5 separate regions of the Homo sapiens genome follow, and all the other regions are linked to region 4. Evidence: promoter capture Hi-C in 16 types of primary human blood cells and fetal thymus (Javierre and others, 2016). All regions are on one chromosome and are shown on one strand. The core of a region is centred on a gene start or on the middle of the fragment in contact, and the rest is flanking DNA. Distances in the headings are between cores, read along the strand shown.

Region 1 (2,700 bases), core at 192-2,691, 66 kb before region 4:
AGGGTGGGTTCTGAGTGGGGTGTGGGCAAGAGGGGGATACGGGTGGGCTCCAAGTGGGGGGGGGGTGAAGGGGGACCTAAGACTGGGCTCCAAGTGGGGTGGGGGCAAGAGGGGCTAAGGGTGGGCTCCAAGTAGGGTGGGGATGAGAGGGGGCCTAAGGGTGGGCTCCGAGTGGGGTGGGGGCGAGAGGGGCCTAAGGCTGGGCTCCGAAAGGGGTGGGGGCGAGAGGGGCCCTAAGGGTGGGCTCTGAGTGGGGTGGGGGCGAGAGGGGCCTAAGGGTGGGCTCTGAGTGGGGTGGGGCAAGGGGTCTGGGAAGCCTGCGAGAGCTGGGGGAGGCAGTAGCGGATTGTTTGGGGTGCGGGTTGTGTAAGTCCTGGGCTATTCTGGTTTTGGGAAGCAGCTGGCCACGGCCTGACCACATCCCGGGCCTGGGCGCCGCCCGCCCACCCGCTCCCTTCCGGGCACCTTTCTCTGACCCTGACCAGCCTGTGATCCGTGCCAGCTCCTGAGGCCTCTTAGTCTGGGCAGTTCCGACCCCACCGTGACAACTCCCCACAGACCTGGGTGGGCCCCAGCTCCCAGTTTTTTCCCTCCCACCCCCCTGCCAGGAGAGCTGCTCAAGTCTGCCTCCCAGGAGCCACCTCCAAGGAGACCAGGAGTCAGTTAGATAAGGTCACCCCAAACCCAGAACCCACTGCAGGGTCAAGTGTGTGTGTGTGTGTGTGTGTGTGTGTGTGTGTGTGTGTTTGTGTCTTCACCCCCAACCCCATCCCCCAGAGATAGAATCGTGCTATGTTGCCCAGGCTGGTCTCAAACTTCTGGCCTCAAGCCATCCTCCTGCCTCAGCCTCCTAAAGTGCTGGGATTATAATGAGCTTGCGTGGGAGACAGCAGGGGACTGTGGGTGTGAACAGGAACCCCAGGAAGCAGTCCCCTCCCCTGCACAGCACCAGGCTTAGCTCAGGAAGTCCCCCTTCCCATCCCCTGGTGGCTCCCTTTCCCTGATCTGCTGGTACAGAAAGGAGGTGCCCAGAGAGAATGCCAGGGTGGGAAAGGGGTGCAGGGCGAGGGGAGGAAGTTAGCCACCGTGCCTTGCTGTCACCCAGGTTGGAATGCGGTGGCACCATCTCGGCTCACTGCAACCTCCACCTCCTGGGTTCAAACGATTCTCATGCCTCGGCTTCCCGAGTAGCTGGGATTACAGGCATGCACCACCACACTCAGCTAATTTTTGTATTTTTTAGCAAAAATGGGGTTTTGCCATGTTGCCCGGGCTGGTCTCAAACTCCTGAGCTCAAGCGATCCTCCTGCTTTGGCCTCCTAAAGTGCTGGGATGACAGGAGTGAGTCACCGCGCCCGGCCCTGTGTGTCGTCAGTGGCTTTGCTTTGCAGGAGGGTGCAGAGCCTGTGTGTTGCAGTCGCTGAACCCTGGAGTCTCAGCATGGGGTCTGCACGCAGCCTCTGCCTACCCTCTGGGTGTCTGTCGCTCCGTCTGAGGCCATGTGAACCTGTCCTGCCATGATAGCATGGTGCACGTGCGTCTGCTCTGTGCCTGTCCGCGTGTCTAACCTCATGGCAAAACGGTGTCTTCTTGCTGTCCACCTGCCTGCCTGCCTGCCTGCCTGCCTTCCTGCCTGCCTGCCTGCCTGCCTGCCTGCCTGCCTTCCTTCCTTCCTTCCTTCCTTCCTTCCTTCCTTTCTTTCCCTCTCTCTCTTTCTTTCATCTCTCTCTCTCTCTTTCTCTCTTTCTTTCTTTTTTTTTTTTTGAGATGGAGTCTCGCTCTGTAGCCCAGGCTGGGGTACAGTGGCACGATCTCGGCTCACTGCAGCCTCCCAGGTTCAAACAATTCTCCTTGCCTCAGCCTCCTGAGTAGCTGGGATTACAGGCCCCCCTGCTGCCTTTCTTTAAAAGGGGGACCAGGCCAGGCGCGGTGGCTCACGCCTGTAATCCCAGCACTTTGAGAGGCTGAGGTGGACGGATCACCTGAGGTCAGGAGTTCGAGACCAGCCTGGCCAATGAGGGGAAACCCCGTTTCTACTAAAAAAAAAAAAAATACAAAAATTAGTCAGGCGTGGTGGCGGGCGCCTGTAGTCCCAGCTATTCTGGAGGCTGAGACAGGAGAATTGCTTGAACCCGGGAGGTGGGGGTTGCAGTGAGCCAAGATGATGCCACTGCACTCCAGCCTGGGCAACAGAGCAAGATTCCATCTCAAAAAAAGGGGGACCAGGTGGGAGATGGCGAGTGGTCACTGCTGCTCCCCCATCTCCCAGGGTCCACAGTTCCTGTCACTAGGTCCCCGAGGCCCTGGCTCTAGAATCAGCCTCATGCTGTGCCTGGCCCCAGGCCGCTGAGGGCCTAGGGCTCCTCCCTGCTCACAGCTGCTGCCCACTCCCTGGGTCCCGGGCAGGGGTCATGGGGCCGCAAGGCCCTCTCATCCCTGAGTCACCAGCCACCCGCTTACCATCGTTGCCCAGGCCTGTCCCCACCCTGCCTTGAGAGAAGTTGCTTCCCAGCCCGAGCTGCTCACCAGGGCCCAAGTCCCTCCCTAGCCTCTGTCCCCTCCACGGACCTGACCTGTCATCCCCTCCCTGAGCTCCTCTGCCTCTGGCTGCCTCCCTGAGCACCCCTCACTAAGCCTCCTGCCTCCATAGAGTTCTGGTCCCCTCCCTGGGTTTCCAGCCAGACCTCCCCAGTGGGAGGC
Region 2 (2,700 bases), core at 192-2,691, 87 kb after region 4:
GAGACGGAGTCTTGCTCTGTCACCCAGGCTGGAGTGCAATGGTGCCGTCTGGGCTCACTGCAATCTCTGTCTCCTGGGTTCAAGCGATTCTCCTGCCTCAGCCTCCCAAGTAGCTGGGACTACAGGCACGTGCCAGCATGCCCAGCTAATTTTTGTATTTTTAGTAGAGACAGGGTTTCACCATGTTGGCCAGGCTGGTCTCAAACTCCTGACCTCAAGTGATCCACCTGCCTCAGCCTCCCAAATTGCTGGCATTACAGGCGTGAGCCACCGCGCCCAGCCAGAAAGTGGTTTCTTGAGATGGAAACTACTCCTGGTGAAGATTGTGTGAACACTGTTGAAATGACAACAAAGGATTTATAATATCCTATAAACTTGGTTGATCAGCCATCTAAGTTTTATAGTTTTAGATCTTATATTTAGGTCTTTGATCCATTTTGAGTAAATTTTTTTATATGGTGTTAAGGAACCAACTTCATTTTTTTGCATGCAAATATCCAGTTTTCCCAGCATTATCTGTGAAAAGATTGCCCATTCCTCACTGAGTGGTTTTGGTATCCTTATTGAAAATTATTTGACTTCATATATGAGTGTTTATTTCTGAGCTTTTTATTCTATTCCATTGGTCTATATGTCTGTCTTCATGCCAGTACCACTGTTTTGATTACTGTAGCTTTGTAGTAAGTTTTGAAAGCAGAAAGTATGAGTCCTCCAACTTTGTTCTTTTTTTTTCTGAGACAGAGTCTCACTCTGTCACCCAGGTTGGAGTGCAGTGGTGCAATCTCAGCTCACTGCAACCGCCACCTCCCAAGTTCAAACAATTCTTGTTCCTCAGCCTTCTGAGTAGCTGGGATTACAGGCTCGCACCACCATGCCTGGCTAATTTTTGTATTTTTAGTAGAGACGGTGTTTCACCATGTTGGCCAGGCTGGTCTTGAGCTCCTGACCTCAGGTGATCCGCCTGCCTCGACCTCCCAAAGTGCCGGGATTACAGGCATGAGCCACCGCGCCTGGCCTCTTACTGTTTCTGGATATGAATTTCCTGCTTCAATCAGGTCAGCCTCTGCTCACTCTTGTGCATATCATTTTTCTGCCTTGTGCATATCATTTTTCTCCTTGCTGTTGCCCATCAGTGAATCCTGCTTGGGAAGGCTTCCCCTCTTAGCTCTGCCCATCTCAAACTTACTTATTTAAGACTCAGAAGCATACTTATAGGTTGGGCATGGTGGCTCACGCTTGTAATTCCAGCATTTTGGGAGGGTGAGGTGGGCGGATCACTTGAGCCCAGGAGTTCCAGACCAGCCTGGGCAATATGACAAAACCCTGTCTCTATTTAAAAAAAGAAATTTAGGCCGGGCGCAGTGGTTCATGCCTATAATCCGAGCACTTTGGGAGGCCGAGGTGGGCGGATCACAAGGTCAGGAGATCGAGACCATCCTGGCTAACATGGTGAAACCCCGTCTCTGCTAAAAATACAACAACAACAAAAAATTAGCCGGGTGTGGTGGCAGGCACCTGTAGTCCCAGATACTTGGGAGGCTGAGGCAGGAGGATAGCATGAACCCGGGAGGCAGAGCTTGCAGTGAGCTGAGATGGCGCCACTGCACTCCAGCCTGGGCAACCAAGCGAGACTCCATCTCAAAAAAAAAAAAAAAAAAAAAAAAAAAAGAAATGTAATTAAAAAACAACAACAACAACAACCAGCCCTGCAGCACTATTCACAATAGCAAAGGCATGGAATCAACCTAAATGCCCATCAGTGATAGACTGGATAAAGAAAATGTGGTACATATACACCATGGAGTACTATGCAGCTATAAAAAAGAATGAGAACGTGTCTTTTTCAGGAACATGGATGGAGCTTGAGGCTGTTATCCTTAGCAAACTAACACAGGAGCAGAAAACCAAATAGCGTATGTTCCTGCTTATAAGTGGGAGCTAAATGATAAGAACTTATGAACACAAAGAGGGAAACAACAGACACTGGTGTCTACTTGAGGGTGAGGGTGGGAGGAGGGAGAGGAGCAGAAAAGATCACTATTGGGTACTGGGCTTACTTGGGTGACAAAATAATCTGTTCAACAAACTCCTGTGACACGTGTTTACCTATGTAAGAAACCTTCATATGTATCCCCAAACCTAAAATAAAAGTTAATTAAAAAACCCAACCAAACCAAAAACCGGCCAGGCGTGGTGGCTCACGGCTGTAATCCCCACACTTTGGGAGGCCAAGGTGGGCAGATCACTTGAGGTTAGGAGTTTGAGAGCAGATGGGCCAACATGATGATACACCATCTCTACTAAAAATACAAAAAGTTTGGCTGGGGATGGTGGCTCACGCCTCTAACCCCAGCACTTTGGGAGGCCAAGCCAGGAGGATCACCTGAGGTCAGGAGTTCGAGACTGGCCTGGCCAACATGGCAAAACACTGTCTCTACTAAAATTACAAAAATTAGGCGTGCTGGTGGGTGCCTGTAATCATAGCTACTTGGGAGGCTGAGGCAGCAGAATTGCTTGAATCCGGTAGGTGGAGGTTGCAGTGAACCGAGATCGTGCCATTGTACTCCAGCCTGGGCGACAAGAGGTAAACTCTGTCTCAGAAAAACCCCCAAAGTTAGCTGGGCATGGGGGTGGGTGCCTGTAATCCCAGCTACTTGAGAGGCTGAAGCGGGAGAATTCCTTAAACCCGGGAGGCGGAGG
Region 3 (2,700 bases), core at 3-2,502, 130 kb before region 4:
TTGGGGGCTGGGAGTCATCCGTGCGGAAGTCGGAGGTGTGTGCTGGGCTCAGGGACTCACTCTGCTGGGGGCTGGGGCTTGAGTTGGTGCTGCTGTCCACCTTAAGCTGATAGACGTCAGACACGGAACTCTGGTTGCTGTTTTCGTCTGAAAACCAAACAGAACAAAGGCAGCAGCTGAGCGTGGTCATTTTCCTCAAGAGGAACTCTGGACAGAGCCAAGGGCCTGGCATCACTTTAGGCAGCCAAGGATACAACTGAGTATAATAATCATTGTGCCCGGCCTACACGACATAGATTCTAAGCACCAGAGGCAGCCAGAATCTTTATGTTTATGCAACATTACACTTTAGGAAGGTCAGGATATGCTTATTAAACTCTTCTTTATTATCCACTGATTGCAGCTTGTGGAAGGGAGGGATGTAGCTGTGTCTCTGGTCAGTACTTCTCAATCCTTCTCACATCATAAGATGTGTAGAAAATGACATTTGTCAGGCATCCTTGGGCATCTGAAGGAGGCTGGTGGTGTCTGAAGGTGGTGAGCTCAGGCTTCGGCTGCCGGACTGACGGATTAGCACCTGGGAGTTCTGCCTGAAGGCTTAAAGTCACCATCAAGGTGCAAAACTTAAGAGTTACCAGGCCGAGGCCAGGCACGGTGGCTCACGCCTGTAATCCCAGCACTTTGGGAGGCCGAGGTGGGCAGATCACAAGGTCAGGACATCGAGACCATCCTGGCTAACACGGTGAAACCCCGTCTCTACTAAAATTACAAAAAATTAGCCGGCTGTGGTGGTGGGCACCTGTAGTTCCAGCTACTCAGGAGGCTGAGGCAGAAGAATGGCATGAACCTAGAAGGCAGAGCTTGCAGTGAGCCGAGATCGCGCCATTGCACTCCAGCCTGAGCAACAGAGCGAGACTCTGTCTCAAAAAAAAAAAAAAAAAAAAAAAAAAGAGTTACCAGGCCGAGTGCAGTGGCTCACGCCTGTAATCCCAGCACTTTGGGAGGCCAAGGTGGGCGGATCACTTGAGGTCAGAAGTTTGAGACCAGCCTGGCCAACATGGTGAAACCCCGTCTCTACTGAAAATACAAAAATTAGCCGGGCATGATAGCACGCGCCTGTAATCCCAGTTACTTGGGAGGCTGAGGCAGGAAAATCGCTTGAACCCGGGAGGTGGAGGTTGCAGTGAGCTGAGATCGTGCCATTGCACTGTAGCCTGGGTGACATGGCGAGACTCCGTCTCAAAAAATAAAAATTAAAATTAAAAAAAAAGAAAAAAAGTAAGAGTCACCAATGCATTCCTCCGCTGCACCTACAGTAGCCAGTCACCAAAGTGTTTCCCCCTCCTGCTCTGGTATCATTTGTGCTCATTCCTTCCTCTCCTACTGCTTCAGTTCAAGCCTCATCATCTCCAGCCTGGCCTCCTGCAACAGCCACATACCTCACTGCCCTGCCTCCAGTCTCACGTACCTTAAACTGAACTGCAAACCACTGCCAGAGAGACCTTTCTAAACCCTTCGACGCTCCACTGCTGCCTAAGGGAGAAATGTCATACCCAGTACTTTTTTTTTTTTTTTTTTTGAGACCGAGTTTCGCTCTTGTTGCCCAGGCTGGAGTGCAATGGTGCTATCTCAGCTCACCACAACCTCTGCCTCCTGGGTTCAACTGATTCTCCTGCCTCAGCCTCTTGAGTAGCTGGGATTACAGGCTTGCGCCACCACGCCTGGGTAATTTTGTATTTTTATTAGAGACGGGGTTTCACCATGTTGGTCAGGCTGGTCTCGAACTCCTGACCTCAGGTAATCCACCTGCCTCAGCCTCCCAAAGTGCTGGGATTACAGGCATGAGCCACCACGCCCAGCCATACCCAGTACTTCTTAGGAGAGGCAGGAGCTGGCCTTATCGCAACATAGGAAGTCCTTTCTGATCTCTGGCCTCAGTGCCTACTGTTCTCCTACAAGCATCCTCAGCTCCAGGCAGACTGGACCCTAACCCAAGAGCTTCGTCATGCATGGGTGCTTCTGCCCAGCTGTTCCTTGGCTAGGCTGCCTTCTCTTGTCCTGGAAAGCCTCAGACCTCCCAACACAGCCCCGACATCACTTCTTCCGCGGAGCCCTACCTCCCTGGCTCGCATAGGTGGAAATGCCCACCCTCTCTTACTCTCCTGTGATAGCCTGTGCACGCCTGCATTTATCATTTCGCACACGTGCTTCCTCCCATGAGCCTCTGTGGACAGGCTCTGTGGCTCACTTGTCCTTGACTCCCCAGTGCAACGCACGGTACCTGCATACAGTGGGAGTTCATTAAGTGTTTACTAAATGAAAAGGAGGAGATGGTGGCCAGACTGAGGAAATGGAGCCTCATATGTCTCCCAGAGCCTTCTGACTACTGAACACACGTTGGTGTTCCCTTTCCAACAGCACATGGTTGACCTTGGTGGGGCCTGGGAAAGAGGTGGGGAAGGAATAACTACACGCTGGGTTAGCTCCAATCTGGTTTTGAAGAGAAAGTCATAAACTCATGCTAGTCTTGACTCCTATAAAGACCTTTAATACCCACACTAAAATGGAAGTAGCATTTTGTCACCAAATGAATAAAACTGTCACTTTTGAGCTTAGACAAAACACTGTTCCTCCCTGAGCATCAGTTTCCTTAAATAGGGATGATAATAACTGCCTGGTTTATATCACAGGCTGATACAT
Region 4 (2,700 bases), core at 22-2,521:
CTGGAATTACAGGCGCCCACCACCACGCCCGGCTAATTTTTGTTGGTCAGGTTGGTCTCAAACTTCTGACCTCAAATGATTCACCCACCTTGGACTCCCAAAGTGCTGGGATTACAGGCATGGGCTACCGTGCCCGGCCTCTGTGATGCTTCTGCATGTCTAAAATAACAAGTGGGTATTGACCTACTATGTGTATTCATTATAACATTGCTAGCCATATCACTATCCCTCAGCATTTTAATTTTACTTTTATAGAGATGGGGTCTTGCTGTGTTGCCCAGGCTGGTCTCAAAACTGAGCTCAAGCAATCTCCCACCTCTGCCTCCTGAGTAGCTAGGACTACAGACGCATGCCACCATGTCCGGATACTTTTTAAAAGCATTTAAATACTTTTAAAAATTGTTCTTTTCACTCTTTTTTTTTTTTTTTTTGAGACGGAGTCTCGCTCTGTCACCCAGCCTGGAGTGCAGTGGCGCGATCTCCGCTCACTGCAAGCTCCGCCTCCCGGGTTCACGCCATTCTCCTGCCTCAGCCTCGCGAGTAGCTGGGACTACAGGCGCCCGCCACCACGCCCGGCTAATTTTTTTTGTATTTTTAGTAGAGACGGGGTTTCACCATGTTAGCCAGGATGGTCTCGATCTCCTGACCTCGTGATCCGCCCGCCTCGGCCTCCCAAAGTGCTGGGATTACAGGCGTGAGCCACCGCGCCCGGCCTCTTTTCACCCTTTTGACAATTTTTAAATTTTTTTAAATAGAGACGGGGGTCTTGTTATGTTGCCCAGGCTGGTCTCAAACTCCTGGCCTCAAGCGATCCTCCCTTCTCGGTCTCCCAAATCGCTGGAATTACAGGAGAGAGCCACCGCGCCCGGCCAGCAAGTCAGCGCTCACCATCTCCAACCCCATTTTACAGAAGAGAAAACTGAGGCTTGGGGAGGGCTGCAAGGCAGGAGCCCTCGGCGCCCGGCCAAAGTCAGAAATTTGTTGTTGCCATCCGAGGGGAAAACGTGCACGGGCTCTGCAAATTGTAACCGCCCGGGGTGGGAGAGTCCGTGCCTGGGGGCGTGGTGAGCCAGGGCCGGTGCTGGGGCGCAGAGCAGGGCGGCTCAGATTCCGGGAGGGGCGGGGAGATCGGGTTGCTGGGCGATCCTGGGGTGCTGGAGGCGGCGCGGCGCGGCCGGGGCGGGGAGGGGTGCGGCCCGCCTCCTCCCTGCCCCACCCCCAGCCCCGGCGCCGCGGCTCCTTTAAGAGCGGGAGGGGCGCCCCCTGGCGGCGGAGCGGTGCGTGCGGCCGGAGCCGGAGCGGATCCTGGAGCCGGAGCGGAGCGGAGCGGAGCGGAGCCGGGGCGGAGCGGGCCGAGCGGGCCGAGCCAGCAGCCGAGCTGGGGGCGCGGGCGGGCGGCATGTACCGGGCCCGGGCGGCGCGGGCGGGGCCGGAGCCCGGCAGCCCGGGGCGCTTTGGGATCCTCAGCACCGGGCAGCTCCGGGACCTGCTTCAGGATGAGCCCAAGCTGGACCGGATCGTGCGGCTCAGCAGGAAGGTAGCGCGGGGGGCTCGAGCGGGGGGCGCGGGGGACGGGCAGCGGCCTGCGGGACCTGCCGCTCGAGGGAAGGGCCGCGCGGGCCGGGCCGCGGGGCCGCCCGTGGGCGCGGAGCCTGGCACGTACGAGTGGGCCCCGCGGAGCCACCCCCGGGGGAGGGGGCGCTTGGAGCTGGCCTGGGGCGGGTGGGGCGCCGGGGACCCGAGGGGGGCGCCTGTGCACCCCCAGGATGGCCGCGAGGCGTGTCCTACAGCGGATGCTCCGGGGAGGTGTGTTCCGGGGGGCTGTGTTGTGGGGGGCCCTGGCTCGCACACCCACGTTCTGTAAGGGCCAGAAAGAGGAGGCGCCTTCCACTGGGAGAACTAGGGGCCTGTCTGACACCTGGAGGGGCCGTTGGGGGTTCACGCATTCTGGGGGCGCAAGAGGGGGCTTTGTGCCTGGCGTTGGGGAGGGGTGCTGGAAGCTGCCGTGTGTATTGCATAGGCCACCGTAAGAGAAAGTTGTATATTTCACGGGAGATAGGCCCGGGCTGGTTGTCTGTGGGGGGCAGAAAGGGCAAGTGTGTGTTGAAAGCAGGCAGGCGAGGAGGGGCTTGTGCATCCCACAAGGGACAGATGGAGGGGAGTGCGTTCTCCAGGGGCAGGGAGGGGAGGTTGGGCCCTGCTAGAGACAAGGAAAAAGCCTTCTCCAGGGCCGGGGCTGCTGTAAGCCCGGAGCAGGGAGGAAAAGGGGGTGTGTATTCCTTGGGGTGTGAGGATTCCACTGGAGGCAGAGGAAGGGGTGGGAAGGGAAGAGAGGGTGACCCGAGGGGGTGCTGTGAGGGGACGGGGTGCAGACACCCCTCTGGAGAGGATGAGCAGGGGGTGGGAGTGTTTTCGGTGCAAACACCTGAGGAGGAAACAGACAAAGGCCTGGAGTGAGAGGGAAGCTGTCCATGCATGGAAAATGGGGCAGAGGAGGGAGGGGCACTCCTCCGGGACCTGAGCAGACATATTAATTGAAAAATTAAAAATTAACTAACATTTGTAGAGGCCTTTATAGTTTTCCTCACTTAAGTCTCTCAACAACCCCATAAGGTGGATGTTTTTTAACTCGATTTGTAAAAGAGGAAACTGAGGCCAGAGAGGGAGCTCAGGGCAGAGCCAGTTCTGGTCCCGGCCTGT
Region 5 (2,700 bases), core at 54-2,553, 110 kb before region 4:
GCTGGTCTCAAACTCCTGGCCTCAAGCGATCCGCCCACCTCAGCCTCCCAAAGTGCTGGGATTACATGCCTGAGCCACCTCACCTAGCCAGACCTGGGTTTTTAAATTATTAGTAGTAATTGGCTATACAAAAGAGCTGACGAAGTTGGCTGTGAAAGTTTAATGTGATGACTCCGATACACACCGATATAGTATGTATCGGAGTTCCGGATACTAAACAGGGGCTCAATCGGCATCTTCCATGAACATTTTAGACACGGGGTCTCTCTCCGTAGCCCAGGCTGGAGTGCCGTGGCACGATCATAGCTCACTGCAGCCTCCAACTCCTGGGTCCCAGCAATCCTCCCACCACAGCCTCCCAAGTAAGGATGTGCACTTTAAAAAGACCACTCTGCTACTTGGAAGTGAGAAAAATAAAATCACACAGTGCAAATGATGAACGGACTGGGGAATGAACAAGAGCAGAAGCAGGGAAATTAGAGGGAGGCTGGTACATAGTTTGCAAAGGACTCTCCTGACAGCCGCCGGGGCAGCAAGAGAAAATGCCTACCAAGCTCGCGGCGCAGGGGCCGGTTACTGGGGGAAAGGGAGGGGTATCCCTCTGGATGACACCAGGCTTGCTCCCTTGACAGATGGACTAACCCAGAAACTCACCCAACTTCAACGCCTGAATACGCAGAGCGCTCAGCCTGGCGGGCTGACACCACTCCAGGGCTACTCGCTATTATCAAGAGGAAGCCTGGAAACGCAGGCGGGGCCACTGCCCAGGAAGAGGGGAGGGCGGGCCCCGGGCTGGGCCGGGCGCGGGCACCGACGCCAGGCAGCTCCAGTCCGGGCCGGAAGCCGGAATCCCCTCCCAGGCGGCGCGCGGCAGCAGCCGCAGCAGGTGGGCGGGCCCGCGAGCCGGGAGGACCGCTGATTGGCCGCGGCCGGCGCGCCCTCTGACCTCACGCCGACGCCAGCGGCGCCCTCCTCCCGCCTTCTCCCGCACCCCCCTCCCCCAGCGCCGGCCGGTCGGCTCCCACCTGACCCGCCAGTCCCACGCTCCTCAGGGCCTGGATCCGCGACCCCCGCCAGCCCCCTAAGCTCCGGCCCCTCACCATTTCCGCACTTTCTCGATGGCCGCCATCACCTTCTTGATGTCGTCCTTGGCCCGGCTGCGGGTCTCCGCCCGGACCGACCGGCCCGACATGGCGGCGGCGGGAGCGGCGGGGGCCGGGGCACTGCTCCCAAGACACCGGGGATCGCGCGCCTCACGCGCCGCCGCCCGCCCGCCGCCGCCGCAGCGTCACAGCGGCCGTCGCCCCCTCCGTGCGCGCGTGCGCGAGAAAGCGCGCGCACCCGCCCGCCCCTTGGGGCTCACGGCCTCAGCGCGCCTGCGCGCCCCGCCCGGGGCGTCCCTCCTGAGTGCCCCGGGAGTCCCCTGAGCCCCCTACCCGGGCCGGGGTGCGAGGCGGGTTGGGCGCACGTGCTTGTGGTCAGGGCGAGGTGCGAGGTGCCGCCGGTGGGCAACCTGGTTCTCTTCCCTGAGAGTTTGGAGGTCGGCTCCCTGCTCTGGCCAGCGTGTTAGGAACCTGACCCTGTGGAACCGCACTCCTGCGCCATCTCTGTCCTCCCGCCTCTCCTGCCCAGCACCTTTGCCCTCTGGCTCCTACGCTGTGCTCCAACCACGCCTTTCTTAAGGATGGCTTCCGGTCTTTGCACACACCTGTTCCTCACCTGGAATCCCCTCCTCTCTTTACCAGATGAACTGCTTTCCCAGCATTCAGACCACATTCTTGCCTTTTCTCGAGTATCTAGTAGTCCCAAGTATTTGGGAGGCTGAAGCGGGAGGATCACTTGACCCCAGGAATTTGAGGCTGCCGTCAGCTATGATATGATCGCACCTGTGAATAGCCACTGCACTCCAGCCTGGGCAACATATGGAGACCCCATGTCTAAACGAGACCCCGTCTCTAAAGTAAATAAATAAAAAGATGTCTATTTTGTGCAAGACTCTGTACCTAAAGCTGAAGACATACGTGGTTTTGGTTTCAAAGAGCTTCCAGTTTGTTTATTTATTGAGACGGAGTCTCGCTCTGTGACTCAGGCTGGAGTGCAGTGGTGTGATCTCCGCTCACTGCAACCTCCGCCTCCCGGGTTCAAGCGGTTCTTCTGCCTCAGCCTCCTGAGTAGCTGGGATTACAGGCGGGTGCCACCACGCCCAGCTAATTTTTGTAATTTTAGTAGAGACGGGGTTTTATCATGTTGGTCAGGCTGGTCTGGAACTCCTGACCTCGTGATCTGCCCGCCTTGGCCTCTCAAAGTGCTGGGATTACAGGCGTGAGCCACCACGCCTGGCCTTTTTTTTTTTGAGACGGAGTCTCGCTCTTTTGCCCAGGCTGGAGTACAGTGGTGTGATCTCGGCTCACTACAATCTCCGCCTCCCGGGTTCAAGCAATTTTCTGTCTCAGCCTTCCGAGTAGCTGGGATTATAGTCGTCCGCCATCACACCCAGCTAATTTTTTTATTTTTAGTGGAGATGGGGTTTCACCATGTTGGTCAGGCTGGTCTTGAACTCCTGACCTCGTGATCCACCTGCCTCGGCCTCCCAAAGTACTGGGATTACAGGCGTGAGCCACCGCACCCGGCCCAGTTTATTTATTCATGTGGAGAGGGGATCTCACTATGTTGTCCAGGCTGGTCTTGAACTCCTGGTCT

What was found. Contacts are between HindIII fragments. The CHiCAGO score rates a contact against its expected background, and 5 or more counts as called.
Region 1: a fragment that was not itself captured here is called in contact with the fragment with the promoter of VPS37D in region 4 in 17 of 17 cell types (erythroblasts, endothelial precursors, naive B cells and 14 more); the score reaches 13.5 in erythroblasts.
Region 2: a fragment that was not itself captured here is called in contact with the fragment with the promoter of VPS37D in region 4 in 2 of 17 cell types (neutrophils and activated CD4 T cells); the score reaches 5.7 in neutrophils.
Region 3: a fragment that was not itself captured here is called in contact with the fragment with the promoter of VPS37D in region 4 in 11 of 17 cell types (monocytes, total CD8 T cells, naive B cells and 8 more); the score reaches 7.8 in monocytes.
Region 5: the fragment with the promoter of BCL7B here is called in contact with the fragment with the promoter of VPS37D in region 4 in 17 of 17 cell types (monocytes, neutrophils, naive CD4 T cells and 14 more); the score reaches 12.5 in monocytes.

Annotation. Positions count from the first base shown.
Region 1 is chr7:73,600,471-73,603,170 of GRCh38, forward strand. The region is part of intron 7 of MLXIPL (MLX interacting protein like); the gene reads right to left. Among named protein-coding and RNA genes, the nearest start is that of MLXIPL, 23 kb to the right of the region's middle. RefSeq lists silencers at 1,369-1,663, 2,389-2,683 and enhancers at 2,360-2,700, 2,389-2,683. The HindIII fragment of the contact is 3,425 bases long and covers 1-2,700 here.
Region 2 is chr7:73,752,997-73,755,696 of GRCh38, forward strand. No RefSeq gene overlaps it. Among named protein-coding and RNA genes, the nearest start is that of ABHD11, 16 kb to the left of the region's middle. The HindIII fragment of the contact is 4,808 bases long and covers 1-2,700 here.
Region 3 is chr7:73,539,906-73,542,605 of GRCh38, forward strand. BCL7B (BAF chromatin remodeling complex subunit BCL7B) reads right to left here. Exons shown (of 6, transcript NM_001707.4): 4 at 1-147. Among named protein-coding and RNA genes, the nearest start is that of BCL7B, 16 kb to the right of the region's middle. The HindIII fragment of the contact is 3,180 bases long and covers 1-2,700 here.
Region 4 is chr7:73,666,560-73,669,259 of GRCh38, forward strand. It overlaps VPS37D (VPS37D subunit of ESCRT-I), which reads left to right and starts at 1,272. Exons shown (of 4, transcript NM_001077621.2): 1 at 1,272-1,537. The coding sequence starts at 1,400. RefSeq lists silencers at 883-932, 943-1,042, 1,153-1,452 and an enhancer at 1,434-2,429. The HindIII fragment of the contact is 11,431 bases long and covers 1-2,700 here.
Region 5 is chr7:73,556,387-73,559,086 of GRCh38, forward strand. BCL7B (BAF chromatin remodeling complex subunit BCL7B) reads right to left here and starts at 1,304. Exons shown (of 6, transcript NM_001707.4): 1 at 1,101-1,304. The coding sequence starts at 1,192. RefSeq lists silencers at 640-1,089, 1,110-1,159, 1,180-1,289, 1,340-1,579. The HindIII fragment of the contact is 11,403 bases long and covers 1-2,700 here.